Regions from separate parts of the Homo sapiens genome. Here region 1 is linked to region 2. Evidence: promoter capture Hi-C in human tissues and cell types (Jung and others, 2019). All regions are on one chromosome and are shown on one strand. Each heading gives the region's core, a stretch centred on a gene start or on the middle of the fragment in contact. The rest is flanking DNA. Distances are from core to core; before and after follow the strand shown.

Region 1 (5,359 bases), core at 446-2,945, 61 kb before region 2:
AAAAAGAATAGACTATTGATACATGTGACATGCATCTCAAAATCATTATCATGAATGAAAGAAAAGAGGCCAAGAAGATTCATACTGCATGATTTTCTTCATTGTAGGAGTCTAGAAATTGCAAGATAATCTACAGTGATGGTAAACAGATCAGTATTTGCCTGGGGACAGAATCCGTAACTCCATGGATTCCATGGGTGTCAGAGTTGTGCTCTGACTTATCTGACATATATCACTATTTGATGGACAAATGATCATATAAAGTGAAAAATCAACCTCTAAACTAAGAGTTTGGGATCTAACTCCAGAATAACACCAGTAACCTCTGTGTGTCTCATTGGAAGAACATATGATGCTTCGAGGATGGTTATGTCAGAGAGCAAATGAGATGGTGTGTGAAAAATAATAGTAATTATAAGATCTGATATAAATTTAATTTATTCTTATTGTTTGTTATTAATAGCTAGAGATAAGCCTGAAATTATAATTTCATAGCTCATCAGTGAGGGCAATGAAGGATTTGCATCAAAATAAGCTTCGGAGTCAGTCTCTCTCTCTCACATGCATACACACATACACACATGCTCGTATGCATGCACACACACAAACATACACCACTCAGGTTTCATAGACATTATTTCTGGAGATAAAGAGTATGGCTCTGAATTTTGTTTCTAATGCTGTTGGTTGTTTGCATGCTAATTCTAGACTAGGAATCAAATCCTAAAACGTCAGTTATATTGTGTCCCACTGTGACGACCAAGAATGGGGCTCTCACCTCTGCCTACCTGGCTCTTCACGTGAAGTCGCCTTCCTCATTTGTCCACTCTCAATTTACACCTATTGCCTCAGTATGGTTATTAATTGTGCTTTCTTACATTTTGAGTGTTATGAGCTAGACAGTAAGTTAACATTGAATTAATATTTCTGGTTTGGATCTACAAGGTGGGAATTATTCCCACTTTAAAGATGAAGCAAATCACTTGTCTACTACGCTACAACATTGTCTTAGAGAAGGGAGACCAAGACTCTGGGTAATACAAGACTGAATACTTACTGCGTGTCCACTCTATGCCCAGTACTTTCGAAACGCTTTCCATATATTAGCTCATTTAATTTTCCAAAAATGCTAGGAGGATACCAAGACATTAGTGTTATTACAGATTACGAAACAGGCATGAGAGGCTAAGTAACTTGCCCAAGGCCATGGAACAAGTGAGAGATGGAACTGGATTTGAACTCTGGTACCCCAGCTCCAGAGCTGGTGGGTAATAATTACTTGCTATGAAAAGTATTACAAGGCTTTCTTTTTTGTGTTGCTTCTACCTGGTACAAGAATCTTGATGAGCCAAGAGTTACTGGAACTTCAGTAAGCTCATTACTTGAACACATTTATTTTTAACCATTTTCCCCCCCACATAGATTTGGCATTATTAACAGAGCCAAAGCCAAGTGACGTTGGCCCTTGATAAAGACACAGCTTATCAGAGCCTGTGCCCCCTTCCCCCTAGGCATCTTCTATCACTGTTGCAGGTGCAGGCCCCCTCCACACCCACTCTGGAAAGCTGAGGGTTGTGGCTGGTTCTCCTTTTCTAGGACATTCCCTGAGGCCACTTGTGGCAGCCGCCAATGTGCTTGCTCTTCCTATTTTATCCTTCCAGGCATGTGGCAGCTTTACCTAATGACCGAACTCCCGAATGTTCCCATTCTGTCCTGCCTCTCTTTTCCCCTTACTCCAAGAATGACCCATTATGGGTTATTAGCACTGCCCTGTTTTTAACTGGGTTGCAATTCATGCAGCCTCCTAACTGCAAAATCACTTCCCTACAGCCTTCCTTCAGACAAGGTGGAACTGGCCCCAGAAGCTGGGTGTTTACACCAAAGATTTTTTTTTTTTTTTCGAAAGCTGCCTTCTGTTTTGCTCTTCCCTTACTGTATAACAGATAGCAGGGTGCAAAAAGCCCTTTATCCTGTTAATAGTGGCCTTAGGTAAGGAAAAAAAAAGAGCATGATTCAAGTTTTCTGTGGCCTCTGGCTCAGTTGAAATGGAATGTAAGTGCAATGCCAGAGCCTGGTAAAAATAGAAACTCCAGTGTCCAGACTCCTCTCCAGATGGTGTGGGAATCCAGATAGCAACTCATCACTAAGGAGGGCCACCATTAATTAGTGGGAAGATGTCATGCCTCACACTGGGGAGTAAATGAAATGGCCTATAGCTTAGAATGGAACCTCTCTAATCGCCAGAGAGTCCGAGGTTTCTCCCTAAGTCTCTTTACTCTGGCTTAACCGAGAGTTCGGTCATTACATAAAGCTGCCACATGCCTGGAAGGAGGAAATAGGAAGAGCACGTGCAGTGGCTGCTGCTAGAAGTGGCCTCATGGAACATCCTAGAAAAGGAGAACCAGCCACACCCTCAGCTTCCCAGAGTGGGTGGGGAGGGGGCTGGCATCTGTGATAATGAGAGAAGATGCCTAGAGGGAGCTGGACCCAAACTCTGATAAGCTGGGTCTTTACCAAGGGCCAAAGTGGCTTGGCTTTGGCTCTGTTAATAATGTCAAACTTATGTCGGGGGTAAAGTGCTATAAAAATAAACATGTTCACTGAACGAGCTTACTAAAATTCCAGTAACTCTTGGCTTATCAAGTTTCTTGTATCAAGTAGAAACGACACAAAAAGAAGCCTTGTAATACTTTTCACAGCAAGTAACTATTACCCTTCATAAGAATCACAAATCTAACCCCTTTCCATTAAGCATAGCCTCCTAAAAGGAATTAGCTTTGGGCCCTGGGCAAGCCACTGAGCTCTGCTAGTCTCCCCTTCTTTATCAATGTCATGAGGGTGATCATACTGATTTTCAGATTTTCACAGGGCTGCTTCTTTTGATAATTAAATAATAAGAAGGTACAAGAATCAAGAAGGGTGACAAGCACATGGGTGGCTAAAAATATTAACTGAAGAAATCAAAGCAATACAAATGTTTGGCACCACTAAGTTAGAAAGAGTGTATGAGAACTGGAGGGAACCCCTCTGCTGGTCAATTTTTATTATTTGGAGTAAATGTCATCTCTCAGAGAAGCTGTTCTCAAAGATCATGTTGCATTGTTAATTTTGGTATCTGTCTCTCTTAATAGACAGTGAACCTTCAAAGTGGGGAGGACCATAGCATGTTCAGGTCTCATTATAGCATGTAGTGCATAAAGGTGCTTGGATGTTTATTGAATAAAAGAATGAGTGAAGATTTGGAATAATGGAAAACATTGGGAAGGGTGTTTCTTTTGGTGGGAATGTAGCATGATGCAAACTAGGAAGTTACTTAGAATGTCCAGGAAAAGACAGGAGAGGGCAGCGTGGGTGGAAAACAGGAATTGAGGAGTACTGAGCAAGAGACACACCAAAGAGGCCAGGACCCATCCACCTTATCTCCTCACCTATAAATTCTGCTCCCCTCCTCCTTTGCAAGGTCCAAGCCTCACAATGTGGCTCCCTCTCTACACCATCACCTCCTGCTCCTCTTTGGAAAAGGAACCACAGTTCCCAAGCTCTTTATACTAGACACAGGGCAATGCATTCTGCACTTATTTTTTCTAAGTTCATACTTTGAATAAGTAATACATTTACGTGGCTCAAAAATGAGAACACTGTAACAAATTATACCCTAAGGTGTTATACCCTTGACTTTATTTCCCCTATCCCCCTTCAATCCCTAGACATAATCCTTTTAATTAGTTTCTTTTTTATTCTTCCAGTGTTTTATGCAAATATAAGAAGTATGTCTATATATTATTTACTTATGTTTCCTACACAAAAGATTGCATACTACATATACTTCTACATATTGCTTTTTCCACTTAATACAACCTGGTCCTCTTTTCCCTATCAATGTGTAAAGATCTTCATCCTTTTTTATAGCTGTGTAGTATTCCATTGTATGTATTTAGCATAGTTTATTCAACTAATCTTCTAGTGCTGGATTTTTTTCATTATATACACTGTGGAAATGAATAACTAAAATTTTGAACAGTTTTTTTAACTTAGCCTTTTACCTGATTGTTGATGCCTTTTCTTCTTTGGTGATCTTGGCAATTCTTAGGACTCTATAGATCACTTCTATGCTGATGACAAAGCCCCATTGCGGTGTGCATCCCCTTTCCTGCTTCTAGCTGCCTTCCTGATCTATTACAATCAACAGCAACTCTAAACTTGACCTCATTTTCTCCTCCTTTGCTTAGGAGGTTTTCCTAGTGAAAAGTATACACTGAGATGTCACATTCTCTCTCCTACTCACTAAGATAAGAAACTTCAGTTGCCTGTGATTTCTTCTCTGCCTTGAACTCTACATCCATTGGGTGTAACAAACACATTGTTTTCTTGCATAACATTTTGGACATATGTCCTTTCTTTTTATTCTTATTGTCATAAATAACTGATTTTTCCACTTTTCTCTTACATGTCTTCTGCAATAATCTAGACAGCTTTGGTAGGAAACATCTCACAACTTGGGTGGGATCATTTTTCTGCCATTAGAGGTATCCCAATGCCTAATGAAGAAAGTGTACATTGCTGTTTGTAATGAGAAACTTGCTTTCTCTTTATTGATGAGTGAGCTCTTTAGGAGTAGACACCTGCCTTATTTACTACAATACCCTTACCACCTGCCATGATGCTGGGCATAAGGTATGTGTTCAGTAAAAAATTGTTGAATTTATCTCTGCAATACAATTTCAACGGGCATTTCCAATCTTATCTCCCATTATTCCCCTAAACAAACTTTACTGCCAAAGCTAATTTGAACTATTGTCCAGATATACTATTTAACTTTCATGACTTGGATTATGCCATTCTCTCTGCCTAGAATATTCTTCCTCTGTCTCTATGTGTTACTCTGTTCAGGTACTGAAAAGCCAACAGTTTCCAAGGCCCAGCACCTCTGAGAAGTTCTATCTGATTACCCTGAAACCACCGAGGCCCAAAAGAAAGCAACTTCCTCAGTAGAGGAAATGGAACCAGAACCCTGATTTCTCAGCTCTCATGAGCCTAGAAAGAGTAGAGACTCTAAGATCCAGAACTGCACATTCTATTTCCCAGTGAGCCATGACATCCTGCCTTGGAGGCCAGAATGATACTTGTCTTACAACTTTATTGGATAATAGGGAGGATCCCATGGAATGATGGAATTAGTAATCATTTATAAAAGCACAAAATCTTATAAACTGTAGTGAAGTATGTAGTGCATTTCTATTCAATTAAATAAACATGTATTAAACTCCTACCTCTACTATACACTGAGCAATGTGCTACAAATGGAATGGTTTCTTCCCACAAAGCGCTGAGTAAGAGAAAGCTGTGGCCTTATTGAATC
Region 2 (5,414 bases), core at 1,363-3,862:
AGATGTTGCAGAAGACCCTGCCGAAGGCCCAGTAGCCTAGGACCTCGAAGATGGCGGAGAAGGGCAGCACCGTGGAGGTGAGCAGGAGGTCGGCCACCGCCAGGTTGACGATGTAGTAGTGCGTGACTGAGTGCAGGTGTCGGTGACAGGCTACGGAGAGGATCACTAGGATGTTACCCAGCACCCCGAAAAGAATGAGGCCCCCCAAGATCACCCCGAGCAGAATGGCCTTGGAAATGTTCACCGGTGCCGGCGGTTGGGTGCAGTTGGAGCTGTCGGAAGCATTTCCCGAGAGAAACACCATGGTCCCAGCCGGGGCCGGGCGAGGTCCGGCTGTCCAGGGCCACCTCCCGGGCTGGCGCGGAGGCGGGAGCGCGGGAGCCGGGAATCAAAAGGTCTCGGCTGGAGGGAGCCCTGCCAGGTGGGTTTGGCTGGGGGTGAGAGCGCGCGCGCGGGTGGGAAACAACCCTGGCCAGCCCTGGGAACCCTCAGAAGGCCACATGAAGGGGCAGGGCATTAAAGACATGGCCAGGGGCGCGCGGGGCTGCCGGGGACCCTCTCCACCTGCCGGGCTGGCCTAGCCCGGGACCCGGACTCCCTCCCTACCCGAAGCTGGGTGCGAAGATCCAGGAGACTCCTTGCAACATGCAATTCCAGAATTACGAGAATCTGCTTTTCCGCGCTGTCTTATTCGTCCTGGCTGGGGGAAGATTCAGCATTCTGCACATGATTCGGAATTCAAAACTCCAGCGCCAGTCTCTCCCTCAAACCAAAAGATCAGCCGTCGACGCTCAAAGGCAGGGACCGATGGTTGGGTAGCGCAGCGCTACAGGTTGGGCGCTGCTCCTGGCCCGCAGTTACCTACATTTTGAGCTGCCCCACCGAAGGCTCCTGCTCTCTCCAGCTTCTAGGAGCACAGGTCAGGGGACGTAGGTGTGGAATATGTGCTGAGACCCAGGAGGCTGCGGGGCATCGTTTGACCGCGTCCACCTGAAAGAGCGCAAAGAGAAAGGCGGCTTTGAGCTAGGCGCCCCAGGGAAAGAGGCTGTGCTGAGCTTGACGGGTTGGGGGACACCAGTTGGGAGCCGGGTTGGTTCTGCGGTCCAGAAGCTGCTTCGCCCGGCAGCGGTGGAGGCGACTTCGGAGCTCATCTCGCGCCCCCACCACTGGGAACCTGCCTAGCGCACTCTACTGAGTCACCTCTGCCCGAGTTCAGGATCCGAAGCGAAAAACAAACAAAAAAACAAATCCCCAAAACCCCAGGCTCCAGCGCTCGAAGTCTGGATTTCGAGCGCAGGTACCACGAAATTAAAATCCTCGAAGCCCCGGAGGGGCGACTGCGGCTGGCGAGTGTGTCGCACGGATCCTAGCCGGGGAATTCTGGAGGATGTACTCGGTTTCCGTTAGAACAGGTTGCCTCGCAGTCACCTGGAGGGGGCGGCCTGGGAGAGGGAACAGCTGCGACCCAGGGACCTCAGGGCCAGGACCACGAGCACGCTCACTCTCACGCCGGTGGAATTCGCACTCGGGTGTGCAGAGCGCACCGGTCTGTCCACCAGCCAAGCTGGCTTGAGAGCCAGGTCCCGAGCGAAGCCGGGAGGGACCCGAAGACAGAAAGCGACCCAGGTCTGTCCACGACGCCTTTCCAAGCCTCACTGTTGGCCACCCGAGGGGCTCCAGCTGCCAGCCGTAGCGGGACTGGCGGGGGACGGGGTGGGGAGGACGTCCCTCTGCAGAGGGAGCTTTGCAAGTGACAGTCACTGCGGATTTTGCAGGCGTAAACATTAAGCCGGCATGCCAGCGGGCAGGGGCCGCCTTCGATTTTCTGGGCTGGGGGCCACCATCTGCGTAAGAAACCTGGGTTTCCACAACTGCGAACCTACCGCAGGGACTCGGCAGGACAGCGCGGCGTGAGGAAGTGCCCACCTTGCCTTCTGGGGTTGGGCCCTGAGGTGGGACCTCGGGCAAAGACTCTTGTTAAAATCGCAAGTTGGAGACCTCACAGGTGGTATTAAAAACGTGCCACTGCAGAAACCCTTTTCCTCCTACCTCGAGGGTGATAAACACAGGGTTAAAAAGACACTTGTTCAGTAGAAGGCAACTTCGCAGAAGATGTAAGGGAATCGGGGGTGGGGTAGAGGGGCCGGTATAAAACCTGGTGGAAAAAGCGGGAGGCGCTGGGAAAAGTGGGGGTTCCGTCTCACCAGACGGCGGGGGAGGTCTGCCCTCACCCACTCGGCCCTGCGGGACGCCGGCCCCGGCGCACTCACCTGAAGCGCCGCTGCTGAGCCACCAGCTCGCGCGCGGGGGATGTGGACCCGGCTTCGGTCCCGGGAGCTGCCTGCCTGCTCTTCTCTGGAGGCGGAGAGGGGACCGTGTCTCCGAGGCACCAAATCCTTGTCCTTTTGCACCCGCTGACTCACCCCTCCACCACTGATGTCTTTAAGCTCCTGAACCGCTGTCACTTTACCTGCATTTTTTAAAAAGAGTCAAAATAAGAAAAGAAAAAAAAATGCAGATAACCGGTAACTCCACAATCACCCTTTTAATATTCAGCTCCCCGACACCAGAAAAGAATAGCAAGGAACTTTGCAGCTCTCGCTGACGTAACTCAGGCAGTAGCCCAGCTAGTACCGTAATCTCCTGCTGCTACCGTATTACTCTACGGCAACAGGCACAAGTGCGTATACAGCTGTAATGTTTTCCTCTGGCCTAGAGGGGGTTGGGTTCTAGCGTTTCTTTAAAAAGGTTTGTGTGTGTGTGTGTGTGTGTGTGCGCGCGCGCGCGCGCGTGTGTGTGTGTAGAGTCATTTGTAGTAAATAACTTCTTTAAATGAGCTTTTAAAAATAACGAAAAATTGACACCCTTGCTAGATATTGCTGTGTGTATGGTGTGTTCATAGGAATGTGCTATAAAGTAACTTTGAACAGCTTGATTTGATTAACATTTGGCCTAGGTTTTGTTAAGATCAAGAAGTATATTAAGAATATTGTAATTCTAAATATGCAAGTAAATTATAAGGTGTTTTAAATAGCAAGTAAAATCAGATAAAATATGACAAATCTGATTGTAATGAAATTATATTTTCAGGAAGATAAAGTGGACATATCTAAACCTTATTTAATATGATTCACTTCTAATTTCTTTAGACAGATGAATTTTAAGAGCATTATGGCCACAGAGTTTGGTATTTTTTAAATGCCACACAATCTTTTCCAGTTTTCTTGAGAAAATGGTATCCTTTCAGGAGTGTTACTCTCTTTAATTCATTAATAGCTGGAGTATGAAAACCTAGCACCACCAGTCTTATTACTTTTTTTCTGGTAAATTACATAATCTGTTTACCTTGTGATTGAATAAAGTCACATGTGTTTCAGAATATCGGGAACATAGAAAAATGTTTCCCACTCCAATTCCCACCTCCTAAGTCATCTTTCATCTTTATTGATGCAGACAAAGTGGAATGTTCTTATTTACTAGGTCTCCTTAAACCTAGGAACAAGGAGATAACTTTAAGCAGTGGCACTTAAATTCTCTCCTGTGAACAAAATCATATTAATATGATTACCTTTTCTAAGTGAGATAATGTTTGGGAGGCTCTTTTATAGCAATAAATCTCAAAATGCCTCAGAGGAATGCCCATGAGAGGGTCAGTAAATCCTATGTCATGGAAGACCTAATATATGTATTTATTTCTCTATTGTATACAAAGTCCTCCACCTCTGCCTCATACCTGTAGGGATAGAACTCACACCTAACACATTTGATTTGAATTTAATATATTTTTAAAACTGAATTTCGTGCCATAGGAGGAGCATCCTGGTTGAACAGACAGCTCCACTTCTCATTACTAAGTCACCTGCTCTCTCTGGGATTCAGTCCCCTTAGGAGGAAGCTTGACCTCAATTCCCTGCACTTCTAGTACTTTATCATCAAATATGTGTATAATGTCTGTGCTTCCGAAATCCCATCCATCAGAGGGATATACACTGTTTTGTTTTGTATTCATTAACCTGATGCTGTGAATGCAAATTCTTCATTAAGATGTGTTCCATGGTAGATAAGGGAAGCAGTGCTATCAGCAAGCAAAGCAACTGAAAATTGCTCAGCTCTGCAAGGTCGAAAATTGCAAAAGTCTTTGTAACTCCCAGTCCCCACTCTACAACAATTAAGAATACACATAATCCACCCCTGCACCCACCTCCAATAATTAACTAGTTAATACTAAGATAAGGAAGAGCAGCTCTTCATGCTGCTAGCAGGTAGGTCTTTCAAATCTGCTTCTCAGCCTGTGACCATCAATCCTTGCAAAACGACCTCTCAGAACCAATTTTTCAGTCACCTACCATTGATTCACAAACAGAAAACTATCCATCTGTTGGTTACTCTTTAAAGAATAGTTGACGTGGACATCCCAGAAAGTGTCTGAGTTGTACACATGGGTAGGTGGAGTGGAGAGGAGTATGCTCTGGGGTCATAAAGATGCTATTCTGACCCTCCTATGCGACCATGGCAAAGCCTTGGTTTCCTAATTTTTAAAGGGAGACAATGAACCCCCACAAGGTTGTTATTAGTGTTGAAAGAAATTACGTTTCTCAAAAACTCAGCTCATAATATTCACTAACTCTATTATTAATCTTATTAACTCCCTTTCTGCTCATTTTGTATGCTACTTTATAGTGAAATATATTTCTAACCCAGGTAGTCCATGAACACTGGTAAATTCAGCTGGAGAATGTGCTAAGTGTCTTGAGCACTACACTTGAGCTAAGTGGTTTAATCAGAATGACCCAACATGGTTAAGTTGCAAGAGCTGGCCCTGATCACTGGCTGCTTCTTTTCTTCTCACTTTCCCCCTTGTTCTTTGTCTTGAGGGGCCATGCAAATGTGTGTGAACACCTCAGCCCCTACAGCCAGAAAGCTGCCTTCTTGGCCTCAGGCCTTGGGGTACACACATTTGTGATGTTGTCTGCCCAGAGAGAATGGACCTGAAAGTGATTGTGTGGCCATCTGGGGCAAGGGATTCTGAGTCCCAGGGCATGGTCTAGAAAGGAGGGCACAGGCTCCAGGTGGGCATATCACATTAGTCCTATGGCCAAAAGGAGTCAGAGCTGGACTCTCTAAAGCCTGAAACCCTAGCCGGGGTCCCTCTTGCCTGGCTCTGAGGGTGATACTCTGAAGACTTCCGGTGTGACAGAAATTGAAGAATCCCCTGAAGGGGTGGTTGTGGAAAGACTCATAAAATGATATTGCTTGATGTAGGATTTGTGGAATCAGCAGGATTGAGATTTGTAGACAAAAGTGAGGAAGGTGAACCATCAGCAGCCGCATTTTAGAGTGGTGTGTCAGGGATGCTGGGGGAATGAGTCTGATTGGAGAAGAGCTGAGCAATGGACATAAACCCATGCATTGAT

What was found. The method cuts DNA at HindIII sites, captures the fragments that hold promoters and counts their contacts. A contact is called where the count stands out against the background at its distance.
Region 1: a fragment that was not itself captured here is called in contact with the fragment with the promoter of ADRA1A in region 2 in 2 of the 25 tissues and cell types used here (dorsolateral prefrontal cortex and mesenchymal stem cells).

The regions. Positions count from the first base shown.
Region 1 is chr8:26,804,416-26,809,774 of GRCh38, forward strand. The region is part of intron 2 of ADRA1A (adrenoceptor alpha 1A); the gene reads right to left. Among named protein-coding and RNA genes, the nearest start is that of ADRA1A, 60 kb to the right of the region's middle. The HindIII fragment of the contact is 6,498 bases long and covers 1-4,944 here.
Region 2 is chr8:26,864,666-26,870,079 of GRCh38, forward strand. ADRA1A (adrenoceptor alpha 1A) reads right to left here and starts at 2,613. Exons shown (of 3, transcript NM_000680.4): 1 at 2,271-2,613; 2 at 1-990. The coding sequence starts at 304. RefSeq lists an enhancer at 883-1,834. The HindIII fragment of the contact is 8,811 bases long and covers 1-5,414 here.